Regions from separate parts of the Homo sapiens genome. Here regions 1, 2, 3, 4 and 6 are each linked to region 5. Evidence: promoter capture Hi-C in 16 types of primary human blood cells and fetal thymus (Javierre and others, 2016). All regions are on one chromosome and are shown on one strand. The core of a region is centred on a gene start or on the middle of the fragment in contact, and the rest is flanking DNA. Distances in the headings are between cores, read along the strand shown. Region 1 has its middle 56 kb from the start of MDGA1. Region 2 overlaps ZFAND3 (zinc finger AN1-type containing 3). Region 3 has its middle 41 kb from the start of ZFAND3-DT. Region 4 holds the start of ZFAND3 (zinc finger AN1-type containing 3). Region 5 holds the start of BTBD9-AS1 (BTBD9 antisense RNA 1). Region 6 overlaps ZFAND3 (zinc finger AN1-type containing 3).

Region 1 (4,364 bases), core at 1,253-3,752, 730 kb before region 5:
GGAAGCAATATTCTTAAGACTGGTCAGGACCAGCAGAGACAGAAGCTTCCTTGAGATTAGAGGTGAGGACAAACTGGAACACAAAAGGTGAGTCACAGGGGGGCCAGTCACCTACATCAGCCATTCAAATACCTAATGTGAATTGAGCATTTCCTACCTGTGAGGCCCTGTGGGCTAAGCGCTTTAGGGGCATAAGCACATTTAAACATTTTAACAACTCTGTGGGGCAGATACTATCATCAGCCCTAATTCACAGATGATAAAACTGAGGCTCAGAAATGTTAATTCACTTGCCCAACACATCATGCCCAGCATCTGACCCTTTGTCATCTGACTCCACAGTCTGTGCCTTAATGCATCCCCACTGTCACTGTGGAGGGGGAAAGGCCGCACCGGGAAAAGGAATAGCAGTTCTGGGGGGTTCATAAAACCCTAGCCTCTGAGAAACCGTAACATTTGACACTTCTAGTTTGAGGGTACTGGGGGAGTGTGGGCTGGGAATCTAGAAAGATGGGGGTGATATCTTCTGTGACTGCCATCACGCTGTCCTTCCAGGCCAACCCATCTATGGGACCTGCCTGGCCCGAAGTCACTGAGACCCCCAAAGCCTCGGGCTTGCCTCTTCTGAGATCAGGATCTCCTCTGCTCTCCCCACCCCCTTCAGGTCCTGCTCTGGGTCCTTCCACATCTCCTTTCCTCTCCTTCTCCATCTTCTATCCAGCCCATAATTGGGTGGTCTAGTGCCAAGAGATCAGACCCCAGGGCAGAGGTCCAGGGGCTTGGGACACTGCTGTTTCCTTGGAAAAGAAGTCGGGGAGGAGAGGACTGTCTACAGCCAGTGTCCCCAATGAACCTCACGTATTACAGCCTAAAAGAATACTTTTGAATTGGGGAGGGGAATAAAAGAGGAAGTCGATAACTTGGAAAGGATTTTGTGATTGATTGTCTCATTCCCCAGTCCCAAACTAACATCAGCTAAACACTTGCACAACCCCTCACCAGTATCTAAGCCCGTCCTATATGAGCTCCAACCCGGGGCCTTCGTCCAGCCTCCGTTCCAGTGCTCATTCTTGGCCAAGGCCAAGCCAAGCTTCCGCAATCTCCTGGGACCTCAGTGACTTTCCCAGTGGATTTTAATTACCTGACAAAAGTAATGCCAATATTTATAAGGGAACAAACACAGATACCATAAATAAATACATTACTGACTCATTGAATTAATTAGTGTTTAATTACTTGAAATTACTGTCAGTTACTACCAATTACCTGAACAACAAATGCATTCTTTCTCTATTACCAATGGCAGTTTTCGGAGTGAAACCCAGAGACCTTGGGCTGTAGGAAGAGACCTCAGGCCATATTAGCTCTCACCTGGCCCCTCCCCACTACTGCCTCCCTCTTTTGGTCACTCATTCACTCCTCGAGCACACATTTATTGAGCATTTATGATATACCAGTCATTGTTCTAGGCACTGGGGATGCATTCATAAACAAAACAGACAAAATCCCCAGCTTTGTGGAGCTTACAATCCAGTGAGTAAGGAAAAAAATTATGGATATTTTAAGAAGATGTTAAGTGGTATACAGAAAAACAAGCAGGAGCTGGGCATGTTGGCTCATGCCTGTAATCCCAGCTACTCCGGAGGCTGAGGTGGGAGGATCGCTTGAGCCCAAGAATTAGAGACCAGCCTGGGCAACATAGCAAGATCCCATCTCAAAAAAAGAGAGAAATAAGGAAGAGGGATGGAGTACTGGGGGTTTAAATAATGTGGTCACTATTCAGGTGATGACCTGGACATCCTTCCTTTGCCCCCTCCAGACCCACTCTCTACTCTTCTTCACCCAGGTCTGTGCCCTGGGAGGCTGGCCTGCATGGACGGCATCACCCAGCTCCCTGCCCTCTGGCTTCCATGGAATTCAGCCAGTGGGGAGTCCCCGAGAAGCCCGGAAGCAGAGGGTGGATGCTTCCCTTGACCAAGGATCTCAGCCTCTATCAGGTCACCCTTTCCAGGCAGCCCTTTTTATTTTGGGATTCTCTAATAGCTGCCTCCCACAACCTCCCCATCCTGTCTGGCCTTGCAACAGCTGCACCCACCCTTCTTGAACCCCCTCCCCAGTCAATTGCCTGGGGGTCCTGCACTATCCCTGTGGGTTCCAAACCCCCTGCCCACACCTGTGTAGACTCTCCTCACAGGATCTGAATCTATGTGGCCTGCTTTCTGCTGTGACCTGGCAGATAGAGATGGCTTCCTTGGTGAGGTGACTCTGGAGCAGAGGTCTGAAGAAGGGGAGGCACAAACACGTGGCTATCTGTGAGGAAAGCGTCCCAACCACAGGAACAGCAAGTGCCAAAGCCAGAGGCCAGACTGTGCTTGGCATCTTTGTGGCTGGAGCACAGCGTGAGGGAAGAGCCATGGAGGCAAAGCCAGCGAGCAGGCAGGGGCACGTGGGGGGCCTGGCCAGAGACCAGGCAGGGGCGCGTGGGGGGCCTGGCCAGGGAGCGGGCAGGGGCGCGTGGGGGGCCTGGCCAAGGAGCGGGCAGGGGCGCGTGGGGGGCCTGGCCAGGGAGCGGGCAGGGGCGTGTGGGGGGCCTGGCCAAGGAGCGGGCAGGGGCGCGTGGGGGGCCTGGCCAGGGAGCGGGCAGGGGCGCGTGGGGGGCCTGGCCAAGGAGCGGGCAGAGGCACGTGGGGGGCCTGGCCAGGGAGCGGGCAGGGGGGCACGCGGGCCTGGCCAGGGAGCGGGCAGGGGGGCACGCGGGCCTGGCCAGAGAGCGGGCAGGGGGGCACGGGGGCCTGGCCAGAGAGCAGGCAGGGGCGTGTGGGGGGGCCTGGCCAGGGAGCGGGGGGTGGCCTGGGAGGCATTGCAAGGACCCAGGCTTTCCTCTGAGAGAAAGAAACCCCTTGTGGCATTTCAAATGGCAAAGTGACTTGGTCAACACACACTGAAAAGGGTCACTCTGGTGGCTCTGTTGAAAACGGACTGTCATGGGAGAGACATCTGGGAACTGCAGTCATCTGGCAGTGGATTAGACCAGCGGGTGGGAGTCGTGGAGCTGGTGAGATACATAGGTTGAGGTGGAACCAAAGGATTCGCTAGTGCATTAGAGTGAAAGAAAGGAGCTGTGGCCCCAGAGCAGTGACTCACGCCTGTAATCTCAGCACTTTGGGAGACTGAGATGTGCAGATCACCTGAGGTCAGGAGTTCGAGACCAACCTGGCCAACATGGCGAAACCCCATCTCTACTAAAAATACAAAAATAAGCCGGGTGTGGTAGCACGTGCCTGTAATCCCAGCTACTAGGGAGGCTGAGGCAGGAGAATCGCTTGAACCTAGGAGGCGGAGGTTGCAATGAGCTGAGATGACACCACTGCACTCCAGCCTGAGTGACAGAGCGAGACTCTTATCTCAAAAAAATAAATAAATAAAAAGAAAAAGCAAAAAAGAAAGGAGCTGTGGATGACAACCAAGGGTTTTGGCCTGAGCCACTGGAAGGCTTTACTGAGATGGGGAAGACTATGGGAGAGGCAGTTTTCACAGAAGATCCAGAGTTCAAGTCCGAACATGTCAACCAGAGGCACAGCGGAGAATGTGGCGGTGCATCCCAGGCGTTGGGAGGTCAGCCCACTACCTGGCCCCGAATGCACGCAGCTCCCAAGTCTCCCCAGCTGGGCAAAGACACTCTGACTTCTCCTCCCATCCTCTCCTGCCCCCTTCCCTGTTGGAAGTTCTCCCTCCACTCTAACTGAAATTCCCTCTCTCCTTGGACCAGCCCCTTCTGCTCCCCATTGAATGGCCAAGTGCCCAGATACAGCTGCATTTAGGAACAGGGAAGGAGAAGAAAATAAGGAACCCAGAAGATTCCTGCCTGGGTAGAGTGGAAGGCAGTGGGGTTGTTTTCCTCTCCTGGCAACTTAAGAAGCTTGTACCAAAAAATAAATGTGGAGTGAGAGTAACCCCAATCTCACTTGGGTCAGAGTAATCAAAATGTAATTGGGTTTGTGAATAACTAATGTTTACCCTGATGTTGTCCTAATAGGATGATGAGACCTGTAGATGTGACTCTGCCATCTCTGCTCCGTGAGAAACATGGGTTTTCACAGAAACTGGGTCAGGCAGCAGGAGATGGGGAGAGAAGTCACTGTGCTGAGCTAGATGACCGGGACAGCGGGAGGCTCAGGAGAGTCTCTGGGCAGAGGCAAGGAGGCCGCCATTTGGGGAACTGAGTGTCTAGGAGAGAAGTTTTGCCCTGGAATAATGATAACTATGATCATCATTGTATGTGCCACTTATTAAACACCCACTATGTACCATATACTTAACATGTATCCCTACGGTAACCTAGTGAGGTGACTCTCACTATCGCC
Region 2 (4,654 bases), core at 1,495-3,994, 620 kb before region 5:
ATTTTCCTGATTTGAACACAAAAGACATGTATTGCTCATCTAACACTGTGTATTTAATATTTCCTGCGTATGAGTGAAACCTGTTAAACAAGGTGAAGAAAATCTATAAAAGGTTAAGATGTTTTTAAAAACAATTTTTGGGGCAGCGTTTTGAAGACCAGTGTGTTTACTCCTTGAGGATTTATTAATGTTTAATTGGCTCTTTCGTGTTTATAGTGCTCTGCTGCAAACACCTTTTTTGATTTTACCAGTAGCTGCACTGCCATTTCTTTATACTAGAAGAGCTAGAAGATTTGCTGCCAGGGCCAGCATTGTGCATGTCGTACTTTCATGCATGTATTATTATTTTAAAAAATCCTGTGTCTGTGGGAGCAGGTCAGCTACATTTCTGATACACGTATGTTTTAGCCCTGGCTTCAACAAGGAGCAGCATGTTGTGATGTAAAGAACTTTGATTTTGGAGCCAGAAAGCCCAAGTTAGCATTTTGGCTCCACCACTTGTTAGCTTTGTTGCCTTGAATAAGACAACCTCTCTTTATTTCAATTCCATTACCTGCTTTACAGGATTGTTGAAAGGATCAAGTATGTTAATGTATATACTAGTACTTTTTAGCTGAACAGAGAAAATTTATGTTTAGATTCTATCCATCTCATTGATTCTTTCTATTAAAGACAGATGATCCTGGCACACTTTTGCTTAAATTTTATTTCAGTGTTCTGTGTTTGGCAATTTGGACTTGGCCTGTAATATCTTCTGTTGCTGAACCCTTTCTTCTCTTCATCGCTCTTCCATACCATCTGTAGCTATGATTGTCTGTAGTTGTCACCAGAGACTTTGTTGCTCTTTAAATAGTATATTGTATGTTACAAAATACATAATTTCTACCTACCAATTTTCTGATCTTATGGTCTATTTTCATATCTTATGGTCATGAGCTAAAAATTAATGTTTGCTTATTGGGGAGGGGCATGATAGCAGCAGGCTGGAGACCTTCAGGTGAGGCTTTGATTTCAGTGATAGGTGAGGATTGAATTCATGAATGGCTTGCAAATATTGTGGGACTGGCCTTGTACCTCAATCAGTTTGTGTAACATTTTAGAATGTAGTAGCTTTTCTCCATTGTCATTTGAATTTTGATGAATAATGATTTATTTTTCTGTCTTTAAAAAGGGTTTTTTTTTTTCCTGAGATAGAGTCTAGCTCTGTTGCCCAGGCTGGAGTGGGTTTTTTTTTTTTTTCTTTCTTTTTTTGAGATAGACTCTTGCTCTTGTCACCCAGGCTGGAGTGCAGTGGCGTGATCTCGGCTCACTGCAACCACCACCTCCTGGGTTTGAGTGATTCTCCTGCCTCAGCCTCCTAAGTGGCTGGGATTACAGGAGCCTGCCACTACGCCCAGCTAATTTTTTTTTTTTTTTTGTATTTTTTAGTAGACGTGGGGTTTCACCAGGTCTCGAACTCCTGACCTCAGGTGATCCACCCGCCTCGGCCTCCCAAAGTGCTGGGATTACAGGCGTGAACCACCGTGCCAGGCCAAAAAGAGTTTTTTTTTTTTTTTTTTGGAATGTACCTGTAAACCCAAAAGGACCTGAGGTAAGAAGTGGCAGTTTTATGGAGTACTTACATAGTAAAGAGGAATAATATTATAAAATATTATGGTTTTAAAATGCATGGCCTCCAGTAGTTTTTGTGGCTTATATTCAGAAGTTTGACTTAAAAAGAAATTCCAGAATTTCAAAAATTTGTTAGCCATAAGTATTTTGTGACTATGATGTTAATGAATTTGCACTCCCCCTGCTGGCTGACTTTTTAGGAAGACAGTGAGTTAGGAAAAGCAGAATCCTAATTCAGACCTGAGAATATCTGTCAAATTTTTTATTCTCTGTAGAAGTGGCTAAAGTTATAGGGGGTATCATTTTGAGTAAGAAATTGATTGCATTATGTCTTTCCTCATTTGGACTTGTTTGCAGTGATGTTTAGTGCCAAGGGGATATTCACTTAGTTTTTTTTTTTTTTTTTTTTAAGTAGGTTTAGATTTTAGTTAACACTATATACCATATATTTACTCTTCTCTGTTTGTGACGGCCACATCAGGTACCTTTTTCACCCAGTTTTTTTTTTTCAAACAGAACAACTTGTAATTTCTGTGCCTTTATTTGATCATTTATTCATTTATGGGATGTGGCTTAGTTTCTGTAAAGCACTGATAGGTGTTGAGGTGGATGTAGAAGGATGAGATATGGTACTCCATGAAGCCTTAAAGCTTCTCTGCTGGAAATCTGTACCATATGCCAGTGAAATGTTAAATAAAAATGAGAGCAATGTCTAGTTAAATAGCATAAGGCCGGGCGTGGTGGCTCACACTTGTAATCCTAGCACTTGGGAGTCCCAGGCGGGCAAATCACTTGGCAAGGAGTTCAAGACCAGCCTGGCCAACATGGTGAAACCCTGTTTTTACTAAAAATAAAAAAATTAGCCAGGCATGGTGGCACACTCTTATAATCTAAGCTACTTGGGAGGCTGAGGCATGAGAATTGCTTGAGCCTGGGAGGTGGAGGTTGCAGTGAGCCAAGATCGTGCCACTGCACTCCTGCCTGGGCGACAGAGCTAGGCTGTGTCTCAAAAAATAAAAATAAAAAAATAGCATGATGAAAGTAAACAGTTTGATTTCAAAGATGAGAAAGGCTATCATAGTGTTGTAGATAAAGTGGGTATCAAGAGTGACTAGAAAAGGACACTGAAGAAATGATGTGGTCTAGGTAGACAGGAGCGGGGAGGAAAAGGACAGGCATTCCAGGCTGAGGGGACAACATGATAAAAAAGACGAGTAGGAAATTAGTGTAATTTATTAAGGGTACAGTGAAAAAAGAACTGTTTCAGGGGCTTTACGTACTTACTTGATTTGATCCCAGCATTAATCTTCTGGTGTGGTATGAGTGTCTACATTTCACAGGTGAAGAAAGTAAGACTTACAGGGGTTAAAACTATTATGAAATATTATGAAAGAATTATGAAACTTCTAGGTTTTCATCCTCCATATATCTGGCTGCAAATAAGTCTGTGCTCCTCTAGCAATAACTTCAGAGAGAGTTGGTTAGTACCACAGAGCCTTATGTATTATGATGTGTGGTTTTCACACTCCAAAATTTACTTAGAAATACTTCTTTTTAAGCATTACATATGGATAACTGGAGCTTTATTCTAATATTTCACTGTTTTTAGAGCCTTGTAAGCTTATTGAACTATTTCAAGTAGAAATAGAAAATATGTTGTATGTGTTTTGCTGCTCTGCATCATAAGCATTTTCTTATAATCTTTCCCAGTGTTGTCACTGATGCAAATGGAATAATTGATTCATAACATTCTTTCTTATTAAGTTGGGCTATGACTTCAGAATTATTTTTTAAAAATGTGCTCAAAGAGGAAATAGCCTAAGAAAATTTTATTTTTTAAGTTATGTTTTGATTTCTGTTTACTTTTTTATATGTTTACTTTTTATTGAATTTTTTAATGTTAAAAAATTTAATTTTTAAGTTATATTTTGATTTTTGTTGTTTTTTAACCATATGTTTACTTTTTATTGAATTTATTAATATTGCAAAGTTCTTGCACTGCCAAACCATGCCTAAGAATTCAAAGAAAGAAATGGTACAGTAGACGGCCTCATTCACCCATCATACAGTATCTTAAAACTTGATTCATGTACATTTTGATATTTTCATAGTCTTTTAAGAAGTTATAACGAGTTGGAATTTAAATCTGCTGCAGGGGCTGAGCACAGTGGCTCATGGCTATAATCCCAGCACCTTGGGAGGCTGAGGCTGGAGGATTGCTTGAGCCCAGGAGTTGAGACCTGGGTGACATAGTGAGACCCTATCTTTCCAAAAAAAAAAAAAAGAAAAAGCAGGCATGGTGGTGCTTGCCTATAGGCTCAGCTACTCAGGAGGTTGAGGTGGGCGGGCTCACTTGAGCTCACTCAGGAGGCTTGAGCTGGGGAGGTCAAGGCTGCAATGAGCTGTGATCGTGCCACAACACTCCAGCCTGGGTGACAGAGCGAGATCCTGTCTCTAAAAAAAACAAAACAAAACAAAAAAAAAACAAAGTGCCCTGGGCCTTCAGATGTCTAGCATAGTATGGTATTACAGAACATCTCCACGTATTCATGTCAGTTCATTCCTCAATAACATAACCCCTAACAAAATTTTGCTGGGAAAAAAAAATGGGTATTTTCCAGGGAAAATATTTGGGCCAACTTCCAACTGATTATTTGTTAACGTTTTTTTTTTTCTCAGATGAAGCCTTGTCTAACTAAAAATCCCCTATTTCTTATTTAATCACCCAGCCTCCCCTTGGCTTGCTCAGCTACTCACCCAAATCCATCAGAAGGCAGGCATCGAGTAATGGCAACACTATTGCTGTGGTTGGCAGGTCTTGTCAGGAGATACTGTAACCTTCCTAGGAGTCTGATTCCTGCGCTGACACTTTGATCAAGACTGAACTCCAATAGGAGAATGCTCCCACATCAGGATAAGTTTATTCACCTATTTGCTTTATTTACTCTTGCCAGAGGCAAGTCTGCAACTCCCTGCATTTGGCAAAGGGATTTATTAGAAGGAAACCCACATTCCACATCAAGTGGTCACATACCACTTTGAA
Region 3 (4,277 bases), core at 531-3,030, 700 kb before region 5:
CCAAAGTGCTGGGATTACAGGCATGAGCCACCGCACCCGGTCCTCTGAGTCTTCTGTGCCTGATTCTAGCTGTGCCTCAATGCTCTTTGTTCCTCTATCCTCTTCCCACCTCTTCTTTCCTCTCTTCACTCCCTCCTATCTCCCCACTCCCACCACACCCTGACACCATGCTCCTGCCAGTCAGTGAATCTCGGGAGCTGCCATAGTGCCCCCAACTCCCCTCTTACCTCTGGCTTGTCGTCCCCGCCCCCTTGATCTCACCCGCAGTTCAAGGGCTGAACTGAGTGGGCATGAGCACGAAGGCTGTTGTCCGCAGGCCGGGGGCCTATCATCTCCTGAGCCTGTCTTTATGTAAAAGGCTGGTATTCGGTTCTTCATTGTATTAGTTTCTTATTGCTGCTGTCGTAAATTACCACAAACCTAGTGCCTTAAAACAACACAAGTTTATTAGTTCCCAGTTCTGTAAGTCACAGTCTGACACCGGTCTCACTGAGCTAAAAACAAGGTGTCAGCAGGACTTCATTTCCTTCTGGAGGCTCTGGGGGAACATCTGCTTTCTCGCCTTTTCTAGTTTCCAGAGGTTGCTTGCAGTCCTTGGCAGTGGCCTCCAAACGTCTTCAAAGCCAGGCGAGTCTTTCTCACACCATACTTCTCTGACTCTACTTCCGCCATGACATTTCTTTCCCCGATTCCAACTCTTCTGCCGCCCTCTTCTGCTTTTAAGGACCCTTATGATTACATTGGCTCCACCTGGACAACTCAGGCTCCTCCCCCTACCTCAAGGTCTGCTGATTAGCAACCTTTCTTCCGCCTGCACCCGATCTCCCCTTTGCCATATAATTTAGCATATTCACGAATTTTAGAGCACGTAGACCTCTTCAGGAGGGGGGCATCATTCTGCCCGCCACAATCACAGATCTTGTTTTGCATTAATTTTGATTTTTAAAACTAGCTCATTCAAGTATTAAGTCTCTTAATTGCTGAGTTTTTTGGCACCCCTAAAATTTGATGCCTGAGGTGAGTGAGGCACCCTCATCCAGGCCCTGTCTATCTTTCTTTCTTGGCCCACCCCTTCCATCCTCAAGCCCAGCCCAGCCAAGCATCTTGCACCTCAGGCTGCCCAGGATCCAGCCAAGTTCTGCAGGTGGTTTCCCAACCGCATGCATTTCTCTGCTCCGGTTTCAGAAGTGGGGGCTCAGGCTCTCAGGCTGCCGAGTCAAAGATGGGAAGAGAAAATGTTCGATTTCTCCTGGGCCCCAGGGAGGAGTCAGGCCCCAGTCACTAGACACCTGATCCTCCCCTCGTGGCTGCAGAGACAGCAGCCTTAAGGCTGGCCACAAGCAGCGGGGCCTGAAGCTGGAGGAGCGGGGAGGAGAGTTGAAAGAGGATCCTAGCACTGCTTGAAGGTCATGGGCAGCCAGCGGGTGTCTGGGCCACCACAGTGGGGGATACTGGAAAGCTGATGTGGCTCTCACACTGGAGAGGCCCCTGGGAGGTAGAGGGCGTGATTCCCAGCCATCCTAGCAATGTCACAAAGGAGACTGCTGTGTTGTGGGGGGACGGGGGAAGACTGGGAGGGGAGAGGAAAACTGGGAGAGGAGTGGGTCTTCCTGAGGCTGTGGGGGAAGGGGAGTGGCTACCAAACATTCTGCAATGGAGACAGTGCGTACCTGAGTTCTCAGGAAGGTGGGGAGGGGGTGGTAGAAGGAGAAGGGCAAGTAGAACCAGCATGCCGCCGTAACTTACACCTCTCCATGAGCCTGCAAAGCCACCCTCATGGGGAGGCCATGCACTTGAGACCCTACCCTTACATAAAACTTTCAAGTCCCCAGAGCACCTCAACATTCTCATCTGATTCCCACAACCCCAGGAGGCAGGCAGGAGCACCCCCATTTTACAGATGAGGAGGCTCCATGCAGTGACTTCCCACTTTCATCATGGCTCAGAGAGCCCCCACATCTCCCAGCTCCTCCTCTTTGCCTCCTGGCTTCTCTTCCTAGAAGGAAAGGGAGTGTGATGGAGAAAACTGGGGAAGAGGTGAGGGTCCCTGGGCCAGATAAGAGACAAACACCACCACCATTGCCACCCCTAACAACAAAGTGTCTGACTCCAGGAGTTACTGTGCAGGAAAATGCCAAGCTCAACACATCCTCCTGGAGTCAGCACTCCACGGAACTGGCATGAGGATTTTAGGGGCTCCTCCCCTACTGTCCTCCATCCATAACTGCTCAGAACTGCCTGGTGCCCCCTTGCTACCCACATCCACCACTACTGAGGGCCAGACTGTGGGGTCCAGTGTCACTGGTTAAGGCTCCTGTCACCCCATCCCCTGGGGCAAAGGTTGGGCCAGATGCCTCCTCCTTCTACCCTCTGGGTCTCCCTCACCACCTGCTTCAGGGGCCCCTCACTTTCCCAGAGAATGCCCCAGAGATGGAGTTCCCCACTCAGGCCCACAGGCCTACAGACCTCATCTTGCTGGCAGGGCACATTGAGGAAGGGGGTTTCAGAAAAGGTGGTTTCTCTGAATACATTGTGCCCACTCCTTCACTTCATTTTATAGCACTGTACCCAGAGCACTGCCAGCCACATGGCAGGGACTTGGCAAATACAGTATTGATTAATTTACTTCTCTCTCCCTGCCGTGGCAGAGACCCCAGGAAGAATTTGCCCCCTCAAGTGGTCTTGGGGGCAGGCTCAGATATTCAGAAGGTGATGGGATCTCCCTGGGTCCTGCCAGCATGGAAAGCCCTCCTTATGTGCCCAGCATGGCCTGGTGGGAGGCAGCAAGATGGACAAGCTGCCCTCAGAGGCAGGCATGACTGGCAGCTCCCATCAGCAGCTGCCGGTGTTCTCAATGAAGTGAGGTGATAGAGGAGGTCTCCCTTCTCCCTCCCTGCCCCAGGGCTGGCTGGGCCCTCTAAATGTGTCAAATGAGAACCAGGTGCAAATTAAGTGACTGAGGCACAAAGGCATTGAAGTTGGTATTTCCCATCCGAGGTACTGAGGCAAGGTCACTGGGAATCATTAACAGGTGGAGAGAGGGAGGAAGTGGGGCTATTCAGACAGAGGCTGAGAGGCCAGAGGGAAAAGGGTAGGGTGGAGGGGGAGGGAAGAAGGGAAATTTGCACACCATGAAAGGGGAGGGGAGAGAAGAGACTTGGCCCCAGTACCCTCAGTGGGTGAGCTTGGCATGGCCGCCTTGAGGCTGAGGGCTGCCTGTGCTCTGGAGCAGGTGGGGCGGTTTGTAGCATGAACAGAGGTTTCTCTGATCCTCCAGCTGCCTGGATCCCTTATTGCCCAGGGGTGGTGGCCTGGGAGGCTGCCCAGAAGGGCTGGTGACCTGAGGGGCTGGAGGTCCTGGGCCAGGCCCCCCAAGGTCATGCCAGCTGGCCCTCCCCTGGGCCCAATCAGAGGCTTGGAGTGCACAGCTGCCAACTTATGACTCAGAGGACCTGAGTAATTGACCCACAACTAATCACTAATGGTTTGCATATTTTGCATTTACTTTACATTCTCCTGGGGGTCTCTCTGCAATCACTCCCTACAGGCCCCTCCCCCTGCCCCCATCCCCCGTCCTTCTGTCTCCCTGCTATTTCCTCCAGGCCCAGACCCACAGACCCCCATCTCCTGTCCCTGCTCTCTCACCTGGGATCAGATAGGGCAGGTCATGGGTGGGAACATCCAAACTCCATCCTCTCTGACTTGAGGGCGCAGCAAGGGCAGCTAGGGGCACCTTGGGAGTGGCCAAGATCTGTCTGATAATTAATCTTCCTGCTAATGGAGGCTTCTCTGCCATCAGGGCTTTTAAGGAAACTCAGGGAAGTCCTTTAGTGCCATCAGCGCTGTCTCTGAGGTCCATAGGGGGCTCATTAGCAGCCCTCCACCTCACAGTTAGTGGCCCCTCCTCCAAATGGCTGCAGGAAGGGAGGAGAGCAGCCCAAGGCCCTGAGTGGAACTACTGCAGCCTGAACTGCTTCCCCACTACACCCCCCGCCAAATCTCTGAAGTGGAGTGAAGCGGCTCCTGCCTCTCTTCCAAAGTACTCCCCTTAGCTAGAAAGGACCTATCCTAGACAAGGAAAGCAAGGTCCAGAGAGGCTGAGTGATTTGCCCGAGGCCACCCAGGCAGCGGGACAAGCTGAACTGCAGTCGGCTGTAACCTCCTAACCTCAGGTCTCCTCTACCTCCATCCCTAACATGGGGAAAGGCAGCCCTTTCTCCAAGGGCTTTGGAAGGCAGGCAGGCCACTGATCCAGTTGGGACTGACCCCCAGGCCAG
Region 4 (4,443 bases), core at 137-2,636, 660 kb before region 5:
TCTGATATACCCGACAGGCAAGGAGGGTATACGGCAGCTATTCCTAAGAGCCAGGAAGTCTTCCTCAGCGATGGGTCTCCAAAAGGTCTGGAGGATGTTGCCTCCGTGTTGAATTAGTCATCAATAATCGATTTCTCTGTTCATGACTAACTGGAGATCAGAATGAGCTCAGGATCAAGGACTAGGATCGTTAAAGGACTCATTTTTTTAGTGTCTCAAACTTCTTTGGTCACTTACCAATTTCCATTACTGATTCAGCTACAGCTCCCCTTTCCCCTCCAAAAACCAAACGTGTCAGCTGTAGGAAGAAGTGCGGCTCTCCTAGCCTGGGCATAGGGACTCGCCTGGGCATAGATAATGTACTTGTGGCTCTGTGGTTGGGAGTGGAGACAAGGAACTCCCCAACACCGGTGGGGGAGAAGAGACAAGGAAGTTGCCCCAGACAAGGGGCTGGGGGAGGGGCATTTCCCAAAAGTTCCTGTCAAGAGACCAGTATACCGGGTGGAACTATAAGAGTTGTTTGGGTGTGGCGGGACCAGGAAGAGAGAGAGAGATGCCCAGGGAGTTGGCAAATTGGGGAGAATGGCTCCCCGGAATCGCCCAGGAGCCAGAGCGGCAGCTCCAGGGACCTTGACTCCGACGCCCCCGGGAAGCCAGAGCTCCACTTCCGCGTTTGGCATTGCTCCCCCAGGCCCCTCCTCGCACTCGGTTACGGGTTCTACGGGCGCATGCGCCGCCACTCTGGGACTGGCCCAATTTACCCTACACAACTAATCTGCTCCTCCCCCTCCCGCTTGGAGCGCACCATTCGCGTTTAGGGGGAGGCACCGCGCCCCGGAGTACTCAGAAACCTGCTCCCCTTCTTCAGACAGGGGGAAGATAAGTTTGCTTCAGATTCTAAAAGTTCTAAGAATACGAAGGCCTCAGCCGCCCGTCGCCGGGCGACAGCCCGAGGCTCTCGTTTTCTCCCACAGCCCCGCACTCCGCCTTTGAGGCGCGGAACGAAGTGGCACGCCCGGATCCCAGCTGATCAGCGGCTGGGCTTTGGCGTTGGCTCCCCCGGGCGAGACCATTGTGACTCCTCGGGAGGGGCGCACGCCGGGGAGGGGGCGGAGCGGCCATTGTCCGGTCAGCGCAGCCTCCGGGGGAGGGGACGGTGTTACGGAGACAGCAGGGCCCGGGGCTTCAGAGCGGCCGCTGCGACTCCGGAGCCGGCGGGGGGCTCCGGTCCTTCCCTGCGCCACCGCACAGGACATCTCTCTGGCTGGGGAGCGGCGGTGAGACCCGCCGAGGGCGTCTGTGTCCCTCCTCCCCCGCGGTCCTCGGTGCGTCCGCACGCCCCTCCTCCTCGGCTCCCTCCTTCTTCTCTCCGCGCCTCTCCGCCCCCTCCCCGTCTCCGCAGGCCGAGTGGTGCGGCCCGCCTCCAGCTGACCGGCCTGGAATCCCGGCTCCGAGCCCCGGACTCGCGCCCGCCCGCGCGCCCGCTCCTTCCCCCTCCCCCCGCCCCGAGCCCCCCGACGCCGCCGCCACCGCCTCCTCAGAGCGGGGCCCGGGCCCAGCCGCCGCCACCGCTGCCGCCGCCGAGCTCCGCCGCCGCCGAGCACCATGGGAGACGCTGGGAGCGAGCGCAGCAAAGCGCCCAGCCTGCCGCCTCGCTGTCCCTGCGGCTTCTGGGGGTAAGTGCCCGGCCGGGTGGGGGCGGGGGGCGGGGGCCGGGGGCGCAGACGCCAGGGCAGCCTGGGCAGGCCTCGGGGCCCGGGAGGCCGGAACCTTGGAGGCTGGGCCCAGCCCGGGCCTACGGGGAGGGGGTGGGGGTCGCGTTCCGGGGAGGGGTGCCGGGTGGGGAGCTGGGGGTGGGCAGAGAAGGCCCTGCCGGGGGTGCGTTGCTACCCTTTGGGACTCGCCGGCCTGAAGCTCGGGCCCACGGGGGCCTCCTGGGCCACGGGTGAGGGGGGCAGGGCGGCGGGGAGGGATGAGGGGGCGGCGTTGACCGCTCCGGGAGGAGCAGGGGTGCCCCTTCCGTGGGCATGTGGAAGCCAGCCCTTCCTCCCTCCCGGGGCGTGAGTTGGTGCCCAGGCACTAGGAGGGTATTTCCTCTGACTTCTTCACCTCCCCTCCTCCCCGTCCTCCGGAGACTTGCATCATCACTTCCTAGATTATATCCCAGTGCCCCATTTGCTTTTAGGAAGCTATTCACACGTCACCCGTTTGTAAAAACCGAGTCCAGAACCAGGCTGGGGTAAAGTTATAAGATTGTTGAGGTCTCACCTTCATGTAAAACACGTTTCAGGAGATATGTAAAATTTCCTTGTCAAAAAGGAAGAAAAAAACCACACAAAACCTGAAGTCAGCCTGGATTGGGGAATATGAGATCCAGTTTCCTCAGTTGGCTCTCAAATTCTCCTCTTTCTCAATTTAAGTAAAAATGATAAAAATGTTGACAGTGGGTAGCATATATTGTTTGGCCATCATGTGTTAAGGCGAAAAAAATGTGAGGTGGGAAATCAGCTCCTCTTCCTCCCCCCATTACTGTTTAAATTCTCCTGGTAACACTTTAAGCTTCATGGATTGCCACCTAACAGGTGCCTCCATCATACCACATGACTGTAGTTCTGCAGTAAGAAAGCTGGAGACTTTGAAGGCTGGCTTTTGTGATTTGAGTCCCTTTTCTCTTTTATCGTTTTGTTTTAGTTTTATTTTTTGAGAGATTCCGTATATTTGGAGACATAGAGGCAGGAAGGAAGATTGTTTCTGGTGAGGACATCTTGGGAAGAAGTATGGAAGTAGTTTTCCCTTTGCTATCTCCCATATTGTAGGAATGGTTAACAGAAATTAAGAGTAATTTTGGGAGTGCAGAGAAAGATTAGAAAGTGGATCTTAATGTAGACTTCTGTGGAAGTTGTCGTATCTCAAGGTTATGACAAAGAAGTGGATTTTCATTTTCTCATTTTTCTGCCTTTCTCAAAAATTTCCCTGTGGAAGGACATTAGTCAAAAATAAGTTGTGGCATATAAAAAGTCCTAAAAATGTGAAAATATTTCTAGTCTTCCCTTCATTTTGATTTGAAAATAATTGGTTTGCCTGTGAAGTGCTTTCATGGACTGTCTAATTCCCACAAGAATCTTGCGAGGTAGGAACCATTATCTCATTATTAGCTGGGGAAACTGAGGCTTTGGGTGGATAATTTGCCGCTTCACACAGGGAGTGTAGGGTGGAGCTGGTGAGCTCTTTAGAGTGCGTAGTACCATCATGTTTATGGTATCAGTCTGCTGCCCTGGAAAAATCTTGTGTCACAAGCCTCAGATTGTAACTCATTGTAAGACATATGTCCTAAAGAAAGTCGCTGCCAGTGGCAGCTAATGCTCAGGATGTATCAGGTCTCTTTCCTGGCAACACGTTTATGTCCTTCGGACTGTTACCATGAATGGAATCTTTATCGAAAGACTTATATCAAGGCTTAGAAACTAAGGAAATGGAATAGCCTTTTACCTTTATTTATTTATTTATTTTTGAGTCGGAGCCCTGCTCTGTTGCCCAGGCTGGAGTGCAGTGGCGTGATCTCGACTTACTGCAGCCTGCACCTCCCGGGTTCAAGCAGTTCTCCTGCCTCAACCTCCCAAGTAGCTGAGACTGCAGGTGCACACCACTATGTCCGGCTAATTTTTGTGTTTTTTAGGAGAGACGGGATTTTGCCATGTTGGCTAAGGTGGTCTCAAACTTCTGACCTCAGGTGATCTGCCTGCCTTGGACTCCCAAAGTGCTGGGATTACAGGCATGAGCCACCGCGCCCGGCCAGCCTTTTACCTTTAGCCGGTAGGGTTCTGATAATGCCAATAGAGTTTGGTGGCAGCAGACAGGAAAAGTTACACTAATGTTGTACTTGACCTATAAGCAACCAGGGCTTCTTTTTAGATATTTTCAGTCTGATACTTTTTATGAACTTCAGTTTACCTAGCAGGAGTAGTGACCACAAAACTAGTATTTTTATCGTGAAAAGTGTTCTTTTTGGTGCAATGTTTTAACCTTTCCTAAGGACGTTTGTAGACAATTGTGTAGTTTGTATTTTATACCAAAGCATAGCAACATTGCCGCCTTGTTTCCATCGTATCACAACTGACTTTGGACATGTTTCCCTTACTGTATGGGCCACATTCATATTTTGTTCACTGAGTAAACTTAGAATATATTTAACAGATATTTGAATGCCTGTGATATAATGGTGGGCAAGGAGGTGCTGGCCCCATACTCTGGGGCAGGGGGCACAGGGAAGTAAACTGACAGTTGCAATACGTTGTACAGGTGCTCTAGGGGAGGGGCACCTACCCTAGCTGGGGTGGAGGTAGAGGAAAGTAGCCTGGAGAAAGTGACACTTTAGCCTAGACCCACAGGAAGGGTAGAAGTAGAGTATGGAAACAAATATTCCTTTCAGGCAGTGGGACTAAC
Region 5 (4,696 bases), core at 448-2,947:
TTGTATTTTTGGTAGAGAAAGGGTTCCGTCATGTTGCCCAGGCTGGTCTGGAACTCCTGGGCTCAAGCGATCCTCCTGCCTCGGCCTCCCAAGGTGTGGAGATTACAGGCATGAGTCACTATGCCCAGATGAGCACTAAAATCTTTAAATAAACGCTCTTTTCTATAGACTGCTAAGAGAAATAGAAGGGAAAAAAGCAATACAATACTTAAGATTTACTGGAGAAGTACTACTGGGAATTGAGGGGAGAGTGTACTCTTTGGAAACAGATAAACGTAGCTCTGAAACCCTGCCTTGCTCCTTGCTAGCTGCATGATTCTGAGCAAGCTTCTTGATACTCAGCTTCCTCATCCATAAATACGGGGAGCAATGCACTTCCTTTGCAGGGCTCTTGTGGGCTGAGAGACAGCATGCATTCAACACTCAGAGTACCTCTCCTTTGTCGGTGCTCAATAAACAGTAGCTCATCTCTGCCATTCCTGGAGTTAAGGCAGAAGACCCACAGTACAGCACTCTGCTTAGGAGCTCTTATGAAAGTGTAGGTCAGATTGGTGCAAGTCCTGTCAAATGGGCATTGGTGGGTTACACAATCTGCTTTTAGCCTCTCATTTAAATTAAGCATGGGCCAGAACATCAAACTCTTTTCAAGAAATCAGTGCTGTAACTGGGACCCTGAGACTACCTCCATGCAAAGTAGTATATAAGTAAAAAGCTCTAATTTTGCTTGTAGCTCAGCTATAGAACACGCCAAAACCCCCCACCAAACCCACTGTTCTAAGTAATGGAAGTGTACTCTGAGAACCATCTGAAAAGAAGCCTGACAACTTGCCTGTCTTATTCCCCACCTGACCTCAATCTTTCTTCCTCTGAGTGGATGATTCCAGTGCCAGTTTTAGATCCAGTGCCTACCCAAGATTTGGCGCTTCCCAAACAGACTGTAGTGTTGGTAGACAGCATATAGCCATCACACAGGCTGACACTAAGAGATAGTGGGTATGAATGTGCGCTCTGTGCAAAATCCTCATGGGGAAGGAAGGCAACACCTGGGTACCTTTGGCAATGTAAAAATTCCCTTCTTTTAAAAATGCTCTTTAAACAAAGAGCTTTATATCTAGACTCAAAAATGCCTTTCCATCAGTATCAGCTTCTCCCAGGTAAAAGGAAGTGAAGACAGAAACAATGGAAATCCCATTGAGTAGGGAGAGGCAAAACAGAAAGGTTTATTCTAACGTGAGAGGAGCCCATGATGATGTGAAAGGGAAAGAAGAGAGAAGAATGGCATATAACCTGGAAGATTCAAGTACATTCACAGATAGATACTTTCCCAAGGTGTGCAGGAATCTAGCCCTTCTTCAAGGAGACAACCATAGCATCATATAATTCAAATTAATTCCTTTCTGAATGAGAGCTGAGTAACAAAGACAAAACTTGGCAAGATGGCACAGCACAGTGAGTGCAAAATTGTATTCCCAGTTGATACTTGGTGAGATGTTAGGTTGTCAGCTTAATGTAAAATAAAATGAGGCCGCACATCGTAAAGTGTTTTGAAAAGTAAAAATCCAAGGGAGATAGGAAGGCAGCATTTTAATGAGTCTAGAGAAAATGAATTCCAGGGTGAGCAGCTCTGCTCACGACCTCTTTTCAGTTGGTATCCCATAGGCCTCTGGGAAGCGGGGCACATGAGGGAGGGGCCAGTGCCTGCCTCCACACTACCCCCTCTCCCCTAATGAGGCTGGCAGCACCATTTGCTAGCACCTGGCAGATGAGAGAGAAAGAAAACCTGGTGTGGAGACCCCCATCCATTAAAGGCAAGAGAGTGAAAAGTGGGAGAGAAAGCTCCCAAGTTCAACAGCAGTGACCTAGGGTCATGCAGTGAGGACTTACAAAGGTATAAAAGCTTCTTTATTCAGGTGGTTCCTTTCAGCGCAACTTATTTGATGATGCTTAATGCAGGCAGTTAAAAGAACAGTTCAGTTGGATATAACTTACAGTACGTCACACAAATCTGGAGTGCCCAAGGAACATTAGTTTCAGGGAACACACTGAGATTATAACCAGCCTTTTTGCCAGGGGCAGCTTGTAACTCAGAAAGTCATGTTTCATTTAGGATGTGCTGTATAATGTTGAAGGGGAAAGTAACTATTTTGTTTTGTTGTGTTTCTTCCCAGTCCAAGAAGAAAGCATTTGGAGAAGTGCTACACATGCTCAACTGAACTTCCTGTCAAATTGTTCTCACTCGTTTGGGCACAAGTCTGCTTAAGCCATCTCTCATTAACATTTACTCTTGCCCGAAGCCCTCTACGCCCCCAACCCCTGCTAATCTTCCACAAGCAAGCTGATCACACTGGGATCTCCTTTTCCCAGACACGTTTGATTCTCACTTTCTCCTGAACCTAGAAATGTGCTTCCCACCAAAGCATGCCAGGCACTAACTCGTCCCTACTGAAAGGGGCTGTTAAAAGCTCATCTTCTTTCCAGATGGTAGTGAGGTGTGAGGTGATCCTTTCTCTTTCTTTTTTTTTTTTTTTTACTTTTAGCTACCCCTCAATTCTGGTGTTCAGTAACAATGTATTCCACTTAAAAGAGAGAAATCATATTAATTATTCTAAGATATAAACACTTAATTTTATTCATGCTCTTGAATTACTTTCCTTTCTACCGCATGTTTGTGTAGCTGTTATATGAGTCCTTTCTACTGATGTAGCTGTCATTCCTTCAACTCAGTTCTTGCCAAACACTGAGCTATGTCTGGAGATACAAAGATAACTACTCTTGTTGAAGAGATGCCAGTTTAGTGGGGGAGACAGACATGTAAACAGATCTGTATCTGAGATAGATGGCCTGGGTAGGAAAAGAATATATATAGCACAAATAACTCAGTGGACCTGCAAAAACAGAGCTTGAGGCCATGATATACCACAAAGACCCACCAAGGCACAAGCACTGTCAACATGAAGGTAAGGCTTCCATTTTTGCCTCTTTCAATCTGGGTACATCTATTCTACATACTCTGCCTTTCCTCCTGTTACAGGAAAAGAAGGAACCTCAATTCTACCTAAAGTCAATCTTCTCCTTGAGCTAGAGATCCAGCCCCTCTCCCATAATGAGGTACACGGCCCCTACAAAGATCCACTCTCCTGCATTATCAAATCCTCCCTCCCTGTGGTATCATTCCAGTCCACACACACACATACCTTAACATCATCCTCCCTTGACCCTAGGTCCCCCTCCATCCTCTTCATCATTTCTCTGCTTCCCCTCCCAGTGATACTTTATCTTCTACATGTATTGCTACCCCTATTCCCTCAGCCTCTATTCCCTTCTCCCTTGACTCCACTGAAATGGCTCTTAAAGGACGCCACTAAGCTCTATCTTGCTACAACCAGGAGTCGATTTTCTGTTACCTACTGCCCTCTCCCATCTCCCCTCCTCATACCGAAAGACTGACTTTTTAAGACTTCCATGAAAATGTTGTCCTTGTTTTCTTCCTGCCTCACTGGCAGCTCCTTCCCAGTCTCTTGTATTCACTTTTCCTTGCCCACCTGCTGTCTGGTCTTCCCTATAGTCCATTCTCACACTAGATCACACTAGAGTTATCTTTCAAAAATCTCAACTACCATCACCTGGTTTAAACCCTTCTATGGTTTCCCATCATCCTTAGAATTCGACACTATCAAGTCCCTGTAGGACATGGCTCCTGTCTATCTGTCTGCCCTCATTGCTAAACATACCTTCCTCCCAACACCCTACAGACTATCTACCCACCAGATTTCAGAAACACATGGCCTTCTTTCTGTTCCTCAAAAACCCCAAGCTAGTTTCTACTTCACAGCCTTTACTCTTGCTGTTCCCTAGCCTGGAACACTTCTCCCTTAGATTGCTGCATAGCCAAGCCAACTTCTTGTAATTCAAGTTTTGGCTCAACTCACTTCCTCAGAAAGGCCTTCCCTGACCGTTCTGCTCAAGTGCTCCTTCCCCAAACTCAACCACTGGCTAGCTTATTCCCCCATTCCAATTTTGTCAAACTATGACTAGTCAGTATCACATTTATTTCTTTACATCTCATTTTTCTCTCTCTCCTACTACAATGTAAACTGCGTTAAGCAACAACTTAATCTCGTTTACTGCTATATGTCTACTTCCAGGCACAGTGTTTAGTATATTGTGGGTGCTCCGTAAACATTTTACTCAATGGATAAATGAAATGACGATGAAATCCTTGTTTAGAATCCTGTGTTCAGCTCTTTGCTCTTCAACTGTAGACATGCACAGAAGCATAAAGGTGAGACATAATAACTAGTGCACAGGGAAATCAGACCTATGAAACTAGAACTAGAATTACTAAGGAAGTGTTATATTTTTATTCTTCAGGGGTAATCATTAGTTGTTTTTTAAATGTCTAATGAGGATTAAATAAAAAGAAATGGATTAAAGGTTCAGCAGATGGGCAAAAGTTCTAGAGTAGATAAAATGTGGGTTAGATTTATAAAAACACTTCCTGGGACTGACTACTATTTGAGATTATAATCAGTTCCTGAAGAAGAATACTGGATATCTTTTTAAAACAAAAAGAGATAACAGTAATCCTTTATCAACTGAGTGCTTCCTTTGTACCAAGACCTCTGCTAAGGCTGTTTTACAAGCCTGATCTCCTTTGACATTTGTAGCAACCCTATGAGACAGGTACAGGGATAGC
Region 6 (4,478 bases), core at 986-3,485, 600 kb before region 5:
TATGTTTTTCTGGATTAGTCCTAGGGTTTAGTCCCTGCTACACACACTGCTGCTATACTTCCCCCTTGGAGAAGGAAATGAATGTAATTCCCATATAATTGGGAAATGCCAACCTCACTGGTCTGTGCCCCTCCCAATCCCCACCACCCCCATTTGTTTGGTTTGGAGTGTTTGTGCCCCCCACCCTTCCACCCTTTTGGATATTAGAGATGTGGGCCATGGCCAGACTAGGTTAGCCCACTACCTGGTCTGGGCTGCATACAAAGATAATGAACAGGGAGTAGCTGGCCACTTCTTTTGGCATTTCTTTACAGAAATCCTCTTTGTTTCTATGTCTGTTCACTGTGGGACTTTGGAATTTCTTTGTGTTTATCCCATAAACATTTTCTCTTGCTCAGGACATTCCAGTGGTTGCTTAATGTTTCTCTAGTACCATCCAGTGTATGGCTATATTTAAAACATGTAGCCTGGGTGCATTGTCTCATGCCTATAATCCTAGCACTTTGAGAGGCCAAGGCAGAAGAATCATTTGAGGCCAGGAGTTCAAGACCAGCCTGGGCAACATAGTGAGACCCCTTCTCTACAAAAAAATTTAAAAACAATTAGCTCGGTATAGAGTTGTGCACCTGTAGTCCTAGCCACTTGGGAGGCTACATTGGGAAGATCCCTTGAGCCCAGGAGTTTGAGGTTGCAGTGAACTATGATCACGCCACTGCTCTACAGCCTGGGTGACAGAATGAGACTCTTTTTGTACAAAAACACAAACAAAACTAAAGCATCTTACAGTCCTAGTTAATAAAGTCAATAAAGTGAGTCACACATAGTACAAGCAGTGTACAAAGCACATCCAGAGAGTAAGTTTAGCATCCTAAGATAGTTTTATCTTACTGTACCAGCAATATTGTCACAGTAAAGAGAATTAACATTGGATGGCCCCCACCCCCTACCCTTCGCTGTTGAACGTATAGAAAGTACCCAGACTACAAATGAGTTTTGTTTGCAGATATTTTAAATAATGAAGACTGTAGAAATCTACCCCATATTTAAATGATGTATACCTTTTCTTTTCTTTCTTTCTTTTTTTTTTTTGAGACGGAGTCTCGCTCTGTTGCCCAGGCTGGAGTGCAGCGGCACAATCTTGGCTCACTGCAACCTCTGCCTCCTGGGTTCAAGCAATTCTCTGCCTCAGCCTCCTGAGTAGCTGGGATTACAGGTGCCCGCCACCATGCCTGGCTAATTTTTGTATTTTTAGTAGAGACAAGGTTTCACCATCTTGGTCAGGCTGGTCTTGAACTCCTGACCTCATGATCCACCTGTCTCGGCCTCCCAAAGTGCTGGGATTACAGGCGTGAGCCGCCGTGCCCGGCTTGATGGATACCTTTTCATTATCTATTTCCCTTTCTCCCGTCCACCTAACTAGTTCATAATGTATGTTCAGGAGATTCGCCAGGCCTGGGAACCTTTAGCCAGAGTTTCTGAAGGTTATAGTCATCCTTGGTGGAGAAAACTTGGATGACCAAGAGCTTTACAAGGGCCCTAGAGCTCCTGGGTAGGGAAAGATGTCTAGAGTTCTGATGTATGTGTAGCTCTTATAATAGAGATTGATTTTTAACTTGATCACATGGAAGTGGGAGATTAGAATGGTTTTGATATTGTTTGAGTCTAATCAGGGCTTTACAAGTGATTGAAAATGAAATATACCTTGATTCAGGAAAGTGAGAATTGAGAATTACGTCAGGTGGCTGGATGCGGTGGCTCACGCCTGTAATCCCAGCACTTTGGGCGGCTGAGGTGGGTGGATCACCTGAGGTCGAGAGTTTGAGACCAGCCTGGCCAACACAGAGAAACCTTATCTTTACTAAAAAATACAAAATTAGCCAGGCGTGGTGGCGCATGCCTGTAATCCCAGCTACTTGGGAGGCTGAGGCAGGAGAACCACTTGAACCTGGGAGGCGGAGATTGCGGTGAGCCAAGATCGCGCCATTGCACTCCAGCCTGGGCAAAAAGAGCGAAACTCTAGCTCAAAAAAAAAAAAAAAAAAAAAAAAAGAATTACATCAGGTAAGTTTGCATGTCTTTTGAGAGATTGTTAGGCTGTAATTCCAGTGTGGCTTCAAGCTCCAGACCAAAATACCAATGAAATACTCTAGACCAAAAGGCCAAATGAAAATCATTTGTCATTTATCTGCTACTCTAAATATCAAGTGGCAGGGCAAGATTACCAACAAGTACATTAGATTGTAGGGTCATTCCAGGTATGCAGTGATGTCACTCAGAACGCTTTTCTGAGAGATGTGAATGAAGAAGAAAAATTATCAGTGGATTCCTCAAGTTGCTGTTGCATAGAGAACATTTATCATACTTCAGTCACTCTAGCCCTTGCCAGATAGGACTAGTTTCCAAATCCACATGTGAATTTTGGGTTGGAATTTTGAATTCATCTATATTTTCCCTCCACCTTCAAATTCCATTTCTGATGGAAATGAGATGAGTAAATCTAACAAGGCTCTTGTAACAGACATCCACATGATTGTTTTCAGAAATCTAGTTTTCGAGCCTCTTTCTTCCAACAGTACCATCATTGCTCAGAATGTCTTGGGGGCCTCTTGAATCTGTACTCAGGTACTGAAGAGCATCTCTGGTGGCCAATCATCTTTTGGAGCTTGTATTTGTCTTTGGGTGGGAGAAATGATTAACATGTTTTTTAGAGACAAGATTGGGAAAAAAGGGGTGGGTAATTGTCAAGTTGAAGGATACTAAAGGTCTCTATTGAGGTGACTATAAAGAGCAATGAAAAGAATATTTCCAGAGATTTGGAGTCACAAGACTTGTGTGACCTTGGTTTCCTCATCCCTAGGAATACATTTATATGGTTTATAAATGAAGATCTGGGCTAGACGCGGTGGCTCACGTCTGTAATCCCAGCACTCTGGGGGGCTGTGGAGGGCAGATTAACTGAGGTCAGGAGTTAGAGACCAGCCTGGCCAACATGGTGAAACCCCGTTTCTTCTAAAAATACAAAAATTAGCCAGGTGTGGTGGCATACGCCTGTAATCCCAGCTACTTGAGAGACTGAGGCAGGAGAATTGCTTGAGCCTGGGAGGCGGAGGTTGCAGTGAGCTGAGATCGTGCCACTGCACTCTAGCCTGGCTGACAGAGCAAGACTCTGTCTCAAAATAAATAAATAAAAATAGATGTAGAGCTGAAGACAGTTCTGAAGAATTTCAACCTTATTTGAGTAATGGTGTTGATGTCCAAAATTATTTCCTTGAGATTACTCCTTTAAAAGACAGCACTTAATTGGGCATAGAATTTGTTTGCTTGGGGAGAGGGGCAGAAAAAGTCAGTATACTTTGCCAACTCCTAGGCTCAAGTGATCCTCCTGCCTCAGCCTCCCAAAGTGCTGGGATTACACGTGTGAGCCCAGCCAGAAGTCAGTATACTTCTGAGCGGAAGCAACTGAACAACTATTTTAAGTTCGAACAGGCCAGGTGCGGTGGCTTATGCCAGTAATCCCAGCACTTTGGGAAGCTGAGGTGGGTGGATCACTTGAGGTCAGGAGTTCGAGACCAGCCTGGCCAAAATGGTGAAACCCCATCTCTATTAAAAATACAAAAACCAGCCGGGCGTGGAGGCAGGTGCCTGTAGTCCCAGCTATTCAGGAGGCTGTGGCAGGAGAATTGCTTGAACCCAGGAGGTGGAGGTTGCAGTGAGCTGAGATTGCGCCACTGCACTCCAGCCTAGGCTACAGAGCGAGACTCTGTCTCAAAAAAAAAAAAAAAAAAAAAAAAAAAAAAAAAAAAAAAAAAAAGTTCAAAGAATATGCTGTTACTCAACCTTGATTACTACAACCAACCTTAATGACAAAGAAACCAATGGTAGGTTTAAATTCAGTAATGTGATCTTAGGTAAATCACTTGTGCATCTCTGGGCCTCAGTTTTCTGTCTGTACAATTAGGAATTTAGATTTGATTTGTTAGAACACAAGCCTTGTTGGTTTGAAAGGCTGAATCCTAAAATAGTACAAGTTGTTTGGGTCAGAAGTAGTGGTTTCTAATCACAGGAGATTTTCTGCAGTCATATCATGGAAAGGACCCTTGATTCCACATTGGTCTCTTCAGCACTGTTGCTCAGTAAAGCTATTAAGAAGGTGGTACTGAGGTACATGTGCATGAGTATCCATGCATATGCTACAAGTGAGAATTCCATGTTTTGGATTTTATAATTAAGAAGCTATTAGTTGTCTGGACGTGGTGGTTCACGCCTGTAATCCTGATACTTTGGGAGGCCAAGGTGGGCGCATCACTTGAGGCCAGGGGTTCAAGACCAGGTTGGCCAACATGGCAAAACCCAGTCTCTACTAAAAAAACAAAAAACCCCAAAATTAGCCAGGTGTGGTGGCACATGCCTGTAATTCCAGCTACTCAGGAGGCTTAGGCACATGAATTGCTTGACCTTGGGAGGCAGAGGCTGCAGTGA

The links. Contacts are between HindIII fragments. The CHiCAGO score rates a contact against its expected background, and 5 or more counts as called.
Region 1: a fragment that was not itself captured here is called in contact with the fragment with the promoter of BTBD9-AS1 in region 5 in 3 of 17 cell types (erythroblasts, fetal thymus and naive CD8 T cells); the score reaches 6.8 in erythroblasts.
Region 2: a contact is called between a fragment that was not itself captured here and the fragment with the promoter of BTBD9-AS1 in region 5, in 1 of 17 cell types (M2 macrophages). The highest score is 6.6, in M2 macrophages.
Region 3: a contact is called between a fragment that was not itself captured here and the fragment with the promoter of BTBD9-AS1 in region 5, in 5 of 17 cell types (total CD4 T cells, endothelial precursors, fetal thymus and 2 more). The highest score is 7.6, in total CD4 T cells.
Region 4: a contact is called between the fragment with the promoter of ZFAND3 here and the fragment with the promoter of BTBD9-AS1 in region 5, in 1 of 17 cell types (M1 macrophages). The highest score is 6.2, in M1 macrophages.
Region 6: a fragment that was not itself captured here is called in contact with the fragment with the promoter of BTBD9-AS1 in region 5 in 1 of 17 cell types (M1 macrophages); the score reaches 6.5 in M1 macrophages.

The regions. Positions count from the first base shown.
Region 1 is chr6:37,751,245-37,755,608 of GRCh38, forward strand. No RefSeq gene overlaps it. Among named protein-coding and RNA genes, the nearest start is that of MDGA1, 56 kb to the left of the region's middle. The HindIII fragment of the contact is 2,829 bases long and covers 1,089-3,917 here.
Region 2 is chr6:37,858,638-37,863,291 of GRCh38, forward strand. The region is part of intron 1 of ZFAND3 (zinc finger AN1-type containing 3); the gene reads left to right. Among named protein-coding and RNA genes, the nearest start is that of ZFAND3, 41 kb to the left of the region's middle. The HindIII fragment of the contact is 970 bases long and covers 2,260-3,229 here.
Region 3 is chr6:37,776,226-37,780,502 of GRCh38, forward strand. No RefSeq gene overlaps it. Among named protein-coding and RNA genes, the nearest start is that of ZFAND3-DT, 41 kb to the right of the region's middle. RefSeq lists enhancers at 226-776, 844-1,775, 1,370-1,439. The HindIII fragment of the contact is 7,839 bases long and covers 1-4,277 here.
Region 4 is chr6:37,818,341-37,822,783 of GRCh38, forward strand. ZFAND3 (zinc finger AN1-type containing 3) reads left to right here and starts at 1,387. Exons shown (of 6, transcript NM_021943.3): 1 at 1,387-1,676. The coding sequence starts at 1,606. ZFAND3-DT (ZFAND3 divergent transcript) reads right to left here and starts at 1,047. Exons shown (of 2, transcript XR_007059569.1): 1 at 238-1,047; 2 at 1-150. RefSeq lists enhancers at 594-983, 953-1,755 and silencers at 1,034-1,413, 1,454-1,683, 1,844-2,013. The HindIII fragment of the contact is 21,540 bases long and covers 1-2,557 here.
Region 5 is chr6:38,479,899-38,484,594 of GRCh38, forward strand. It overlaps BTBD9-AS1 (BTBD9 antisense RNA 1), which reads left to right and starts at 1,698. Exons shown (of 2, transcript NR_144472.1): 1 at 1,698-1,888; 2 at 2,169-2,629. The region is part of intron 6 of BTBD9 (BTB domain containing 9); the gene reads right to left. The HindIII fragment of the contact is 1,570 bases long and covers 326-1,895 here.
Region 6 is chr6:37,882,472-37,886,949 of GRCh38, forward strand. All of the region lies in intron 1 of ZFAND3 (zinc finger AN1-type containing 3), which reads left to right. Among named protein-coding and RNA genes, the nearest start is that of ZFAND3, 65 kb to the left of the region's middle. The HindIII fragment of the contact is 9,022 bases long and covers 1-4,478 here.